Regions from separate parts of the Homo sapiens genome. Here region 2 is linked to region 1. The links are contacts of gene promoters, found by promoter capture Hi-C in human tissues and cell types (Jung and others, 2019). All regions are on one chromosome and are shown on one strand. The core of a region is centred on a gene start or on the middle of the fragment in contact, and the rest is flanking DNA. Distances in the headings are between cores, read along the strand shown.

Region 1 (3,119 bases), core at 603-3,102:
TACAGAGAGGGGTCCCAAAAAATGGGTTGCAATACGTGGTGAAATGCAGGGGTTTTTATAGATGAGCTAGTGGGGAGGCGGTGTCTGATCTACATAAGGAGGGAAAACCCGGTTTCGTGCATATGGCATGAAAACCCGGTTAGGACCAGGTGTGTCATCTGCATAGGGCTTAAGTGTCTGGCAGCCCCGGCCCCAATCTTCTACTATATAGGCAGGTAGCTACTCCGTGTTGCTTATTTCCTTCTTACTGTGCATGTGGTAAAAAAGAGGGGAGGTGGAACCCCCATGGTGGACATGCCTGGCCCCAGTAGCCCCTTCTGTCTGTGCCGCTGCCGGCATCTCCCGTGCAAGCTTCCAGTTTCCTTACCTATGTTTGCAGCCCAATCTTCCAGGTTGCTCTTTGTTAGAAAGGAAGTGATTTCTTGGGCTGCTTTTTGTTAGAAGGTAAGTTCTGCCGAGGGCTCTTTTGCTCATACTATCTGCCTAAATAATTTCTATCTCCTGTATCAATATCCTATGTGTGACTCTATTCTGCATATATGACTTAGGTTTTAATTATTTTGTTTACGAGTTGGTCCTACCCCCCCACCCCCGCTTCCACCACACTTAAGGAAAGATACATTTTAATTCATTTTTTATATGGTATGCATAGTTGGAGGCCAAAAGATTGAGTTGAAGGATTCATTACTTGATGAATAAATGGATGGGTGGATGGATGAGTCAGTATAAATGAAGAGCATCCCAAGTTGACTATTTTAAAGGGATAACATGCATTTTATATTTGTTAAACATTCATTCTCATTTGTAAACACTTGTATATATTCATGTATTCAAAATGTATTGAAAATTAATTGTTTTCCTTGGTACCTGAAGTCAGTCCTGGGTATTGCAAAGTAGTTCGAAGTCACTGGTTTCCCTCTGTCTCACTTCACTACACACTGGTGATTTTGCTAAGTGATGAGCCAGAAAATGTACAAGTTCCAGAATCAAAGGTAAAACAAAACCCACCAAGAATCAGCTCACTGTTAGCGTCCTAGTTGAAAAATAAGGCTTATCAAAGTATTTCAGATTGCATTAACACTTTTGATATAGCTAGGTATCAGTGTCAACCTCAGGAGAGGGCAACGCCAACTCCTGAAACCTTCAATACAGAAAGTCTAGAAAAATAAGCAAATATACATACAAACAATAGCGAGAAGACTCCAGAAACCACATAAAACCGTGGGAATCGAAATATCCCTTACGTGTGTTCAGTACATGTGAACCCACGTATTTTAAGTGGACGATTTCTCTCTCAGAGTACCGTAGGTAGTGGGGGACGGGGCGCAGAGGGGGAGAAACAGAAAGTCGCCTTCCTCCATGGTTCATTTGCATTTCCATCCAGAAACTCACAGGTCGACCCCAAGACTCCACTCTCTCCCGCCTTTGAGAAGCCGGACCGGCATCGGCGGCTGCATCCTTCTCCTCCTCCCCGCTCTATTTTGGGGCCCCATGATCTCATGCCCTCTGCAGACCACACGCTGCAATTCCAGCCCAGCCCGCGCCGCGAGGCCACGCAGGGCGATTCCTGCAAGTGTCGGGAGGGTGGCCGGGGCGCGGGGAGGGGACGGCTTGGGGGGAAGTTTAAGACACGCCCACGTAAGGGACCCAAAATAACCGACACACAGAGTGCCCGAAATCAGACAGGAAGCCAAATAATCCGGGGCGTTGAGTCGCTTTGCCCTGACTGCGAGAGCCGGGTGTAGGGCGGGGAGCCAAGGATCTGACCGCGAGGGGCGGGCGCGGCGGGGAGGGGCGGGGCGGGGCGGGCGGCGCGGGGCCTATTAAAGGCGCGGCCGGGCAGCGGGGCCGGAGCGGCCGGGGCCACGATGGAGCGCGACGGCTGCGCGGGGGGCGGGAGCCGCGGCGGCGAGGGCGGGCGCGCTCCCCGGGAGGGCCCGGCGGGGAACGGCCGCGATCGGGGCCGCAGCCACGCTGCCGAGGCGCCCGGGGACCCGCAGGCGGCCGCGTCCTTGCTGGCCCCTATGGACGTGGGGGAGGAGCCGCTGGAGAAGGCGGCGCGCGCCCGCACTGCCAAGGACCCCAACACCTATAAAGTACTCTCGCTGGTAGGTCCGCGGCCAGGCCCCGGCGCCCGGGAGGGCTGGGAGTACGGGGAGGGCGGCGCCGAGCTCCTGCGCTCTCAGCGCAGTCAGCACCGGGCACCGGAGAGAGGCATGGTCCGGGAGTGCTTCTTCGCCCGCGCGCTCTCCTCCGCAGCCTTTGCAAGTGCCCTACACAGCCGCCCCTGCCAGGTACCTTGCCAGGGCAGGATGGTTCACTCTCACTTGAATTATGGATGCCTGTGAAAGCAGGCTGTTCAAAACGGTCATCCTTAGAAATACTCGACCCCCTGCCCCAGGAGAGTACGGGTTTTTAGAGGAGAAAAATGTCAAACGCGAAAGTTGTTGGTCTTAAGAAGGTGCATCAATGTGTTGCTTCTTTTAGGGGGCTCTGGGCGCAGTATACATGACTTCACTTGGGTTAACTGATTGCAGTTGAAGAGTTAGCGGAGCTCTTTAAGTTTTATTAGGAACTCTACGGAACACTTTTTCCCTTTCGCTCCGTTTTGGAATTTCCTTGCAGGTGCTCAGAAATTCCATGGATGTTCACATTATGTGACTGAAGAAACCTTTATGATTCTTTGCCCACTCTTCTAACCAGAGGCTACACGGTTTGTGTTGCTAACAAAAGCTACCTATTACTCCTCTGCTATTTTGCTATGACATTTGCAGGACCCACAGTCAACTTCATGAAATGTGGGGGTTGGTTTTTATTCTGAATTCATGGTGGGAAGTGCTGATTGAGAGAAGGCCTGGATTCCTGGCTGTTATTATTTGCTGAGGCCTTGCGTAACTGTCCCTAAACCTCAATTTCTAATGTGTGAAAATGGGACAACATCAACTCCCTTGTGCATTGCATGGGATTATTGTGAAAATCAAGCTGAAGAATGTAGGTAGGGAAGTAAATTGAAAACAGCAAGGAAATAGAATCATTTTTATTGTATTATATGGAAATCACAGATTTCTATGTATAGTGTACCCTAAAATATATCCCCTTACATATGATTGAATAATGCT
Region 2 (3,408 bases), core at 225-2,724, 700 kb after region 1:
TCAGGTCTCATCATCTCATCTAGAACCAGATAGCTTTAAAGCAGATATAAGAATCCATTATCCTTTTAAATCTTTATTTTATTTAATGAAATAATGTATTATGTGCCTGGCCCTGACTTCCTATAGAAAAATGCAGTAAGTGTTATCTCAAATATAATTCTCTTGCATTCATTCTAAAGAGTTCGAGCCCTTTAAAACCTGTTGTTAGAGGAATGCTCCTCCCTCTCTCAATCAGCAGAGTTGTCCTTTTATGAACCTCCACCAAGTTCAGTTAAGAGTGGATACAAATAGTGAAGTCCATTTAAAACTCAACTCACAACACTGTGTGATCTTCTGGATGTTAGAAGAGATCCTCTGGGCCAACTGGGCGGGGTCACCACCAACTCCTGGAGTGTAAGACATGGTTGATGTTCTTATTCGCTAATTTCATCAGATGCTGTGCAGTTTTCTAAGCAGTCACCTAAATAATATAAAAGTCACACAGATATATTTTTTAAGTTACTGGCTTACATTTTCCAAATTAACAATCTGTGAAGTTACAAGGACAAACTTGATTAATCTAATAGAGTTGAAATCTGGCAAAGTGACACATCAAATAGCAAAACTCTCATGTCTACTAAAAAAAAAAAAACTGGACTTCAAAGGACAGAGTCATGTTAAACACATCAAACAATTAAAATAAGGTTCAAATTGCATATTTCCTTTGAAAACGTCTTTGATCTCTTCAAGAAAAATTATTAAATCCCTTACCTGTATATAATTTTAGTTGTTTACATATTTTTTCCTTAACTAAACTCCAAACAATTATAAGGCAGGGCCCACATGCTTATTTATCTTTCTCCAATATTTAAAACAACTCTTAGCACAAACAGGCATTTAAATATTTATTAAATGGAACACAGACTTCAGGCTATCCCCAGAAATTTCACTGTATTAGGTTGTGCAAAAGTAATTGCAGTTTTTACCATTACTTTTAATTGTGGTTTTTGCCATTAAAAGTAATGGTAAAAATGGCAATTACTTTTGTACCAACCTTAATATCTAATTTAACACACACACAGGACCTGCTCAGGAATGTATGATTAATAGGGCTCTAATTTTAATGGAAAAGGTTAAATCTGAAATAGCAGAGCCAACTACTGCGAAGCAAATGTCATATAAAATGTTTATCAAACCTTCCTGACAGAGGAAGGAGAACGAATGACTCTCCCCTTTCAGCAGCCAGCATCTCAGAATAGAAGAGACACTGAGATACTGCCACAGGAGGCAGGTGAGATGACATTCTCTACCTCTTCAATCCACACCACTCCAATCAGGGTTTGGAAAGAAGGTTGAAAAGGAATGTCCCTGCATACAGAACTGCGCACAGCAAAGAATTTCAACTACCGCCACCCCATCTTTTCCATGAATATGCACTGGAATACTGCAAAATTGTTGGTGGTCAATTTGTAAGCTAGCTCTCTACTAAGAGCCTGGTACATGCCCAGCATTAAACTAAGCACCTGGGAGATGCAAACAAAACAAAACACACTGACACAGTATCTGCTCAAATCAAGTTTGTCATTTAGGAGGAAGGATAAAGTTAATAATGCAAACCAACAAAAAACCCCACAAATCCATAAAAGATCACGTGCTAGGCTAAAATGAGAAGGGCTACAAAAAGAAAAAATGACCATCATCCTTGTCTGGAAAGAATTTATGAAATAGAAACATAGGATTTGGATGCTTGGTTATGACCAGTATGCAGAACAACAAAGGCAAGGACGTGAAGGCTGGGGTGGAGAGACCCAGAGCACGTGGAAAGGCCACATGCAGTATGGTATTTACAAAAGGAAGGGAAGGTTCCTGGCCAACCCTGGATCAGATGATTCACAGCTGGGACAAGGGGAAAACAACATAAAGGGAAAGAGAGGAATGGCCTAACATTTCTCGCACATCTGCGACACAAAAAGTATTTCACAGACTAATTTTTTCACAACCTCCTTCAATTAAGTGGCATTATTCTTGTTTTAATGATGAGCAAACAGCGGGCTTATTATGATTAAGTAATGGTAACCCAACCCACCCACAGGTGGAGGTGAGATTCAGTCCCAGGGTTCTGATGCCAAGGCTATCCATGCTTGCTACCACATAGAACTAATGCCACAGAAGATTTCTGGTAGAGAAGAAGCCACAGTGAAGTATGTGTCTTTGCTCTAAGGGACAGTGTTGGCAGGAAGTACAACAGCTGAACTGTTGAGACCATTAGAACAGTACTGGTTCTATGCCTGGAACTCTGGTGCACTTTGAATGTGCCTGGCCACGCTGAAAGTCCTGGTGGCTTTTAGATATTCTCCAACTTCCCTCTCAGGTACAGCTGATCTATTCTGGGCTCTCTGGGTCTCACCAAATCCTAGAGATGGATCCAAAAGCAATTTCATTAAAGGGTAAATTCAAACCTAAAGTCAGACAGCTGGACCACTACAGTGGGGAGACAGGAATAAACTTCCTTCCAGGTAGCCTTGGACTTGGGCCCAGACAGAACAAGAGTAGACATGGGGATTCAATGACACCAACACCATCCGGAACATCCTTGAAACCATGCAATTTTAAATGCATCTCCAAGTCACTTAAAAAAAAAAAAAAAAAAAAAAAAACACAGGTTTTGAATAGCCAAAGCAATTTTAAGAAAAAGAACAAAGCTGGAGGCATCTCATTGCCTGACCTCAAATTATACTAAAAGGGTATAGTAACTAAAACAGCATGATATTCATATAAAAACAGACACATAGAACAATGGAATGGAATAGAGAAGTCAGAAGTAAAGTCACATATCTACAGTCAATTGATCTTTTTGACAAAGTTGACAAAAACATACACTGAGGAAAGGACGCCCTTTTCAATACATGGTGCTGGGAAAATTGGATCGCCCCATGCGGAAGAGTGAAACTGGACCCTTATCTGTCAACATATAAAAAAAAAAATCGACTCAAGATGGATTAAAGACTTAAAAGTAATACCTAAAACGATTAAAATACTAAAAGAAAATATAGGGAAAACTCTTCTGGACATTGGTTTAGGAAAAGAATTTATGACTAAGACCTCAAAAGCACAGGCAACAAGACAAAAAACAGACAAAATGAGATTTAATTAAACTAAAAAGCTTTTGCACAGCAAAAGAAATAATAAACAGAATGAACAGACAACCTGCAGAATGGGAGAAAAATATCTGCAAACTACACATCCAACGAGATTAATATCCAGAATTTACAAGAAACTCAAACAACTCAACAAAAAACCCCACAAATAACCCCATTAAAAAGGGGGCAAAGCACATGAATAGACATTTTTCAAAAGAAGACATACAAATGGCCAAGAAGCACATGAAAAATGTTTAACATCAGTAAGCACCAGATAAATGCAAATTAA

Evidence for each region. Contacts are between HindIII fragments. The study calls those that stand out against the background at their distance.
Region 2: a contact is called between a fragment that was not itself captured here and the fragment with the promoter of ENPP1 in region 1, in 1 of the 25 tissues and cell types used here (IMR-90 fibroblasts).

The regions. Positions count from the first base shown.
Region 1 is chr6:131,806,168-131,809,286 of GRCh38, forward strand. ENPP1 (ectonucleotide pyrophosphatase/phosphodiesterase 1) reads left to right here and starts at 1,853. Exons shown (of 25, transcript NM_006208.3): 1 at 1,853-2,108. The coding sequence starts at 1,869. The HindIII fragment of the contact is 10,154 bases long and covers 1-3,119 here.
Region 2 is chr6:132,503,129-132,506,536 of GRCh38, forward strand. It overlaps STX7 (syntaxin 7), which reads right to left. Exons shown (of 10, transcript NM_003569.3): 2 at 318-460. The coding sequence starts at 402. Among named protein-coding and RNA genes, the nearest start is that of STX7, 8.3 kb to the right of the region's middle. The HindIII fragment of the contact is 6,888 bases long and covers 1-3,408 here.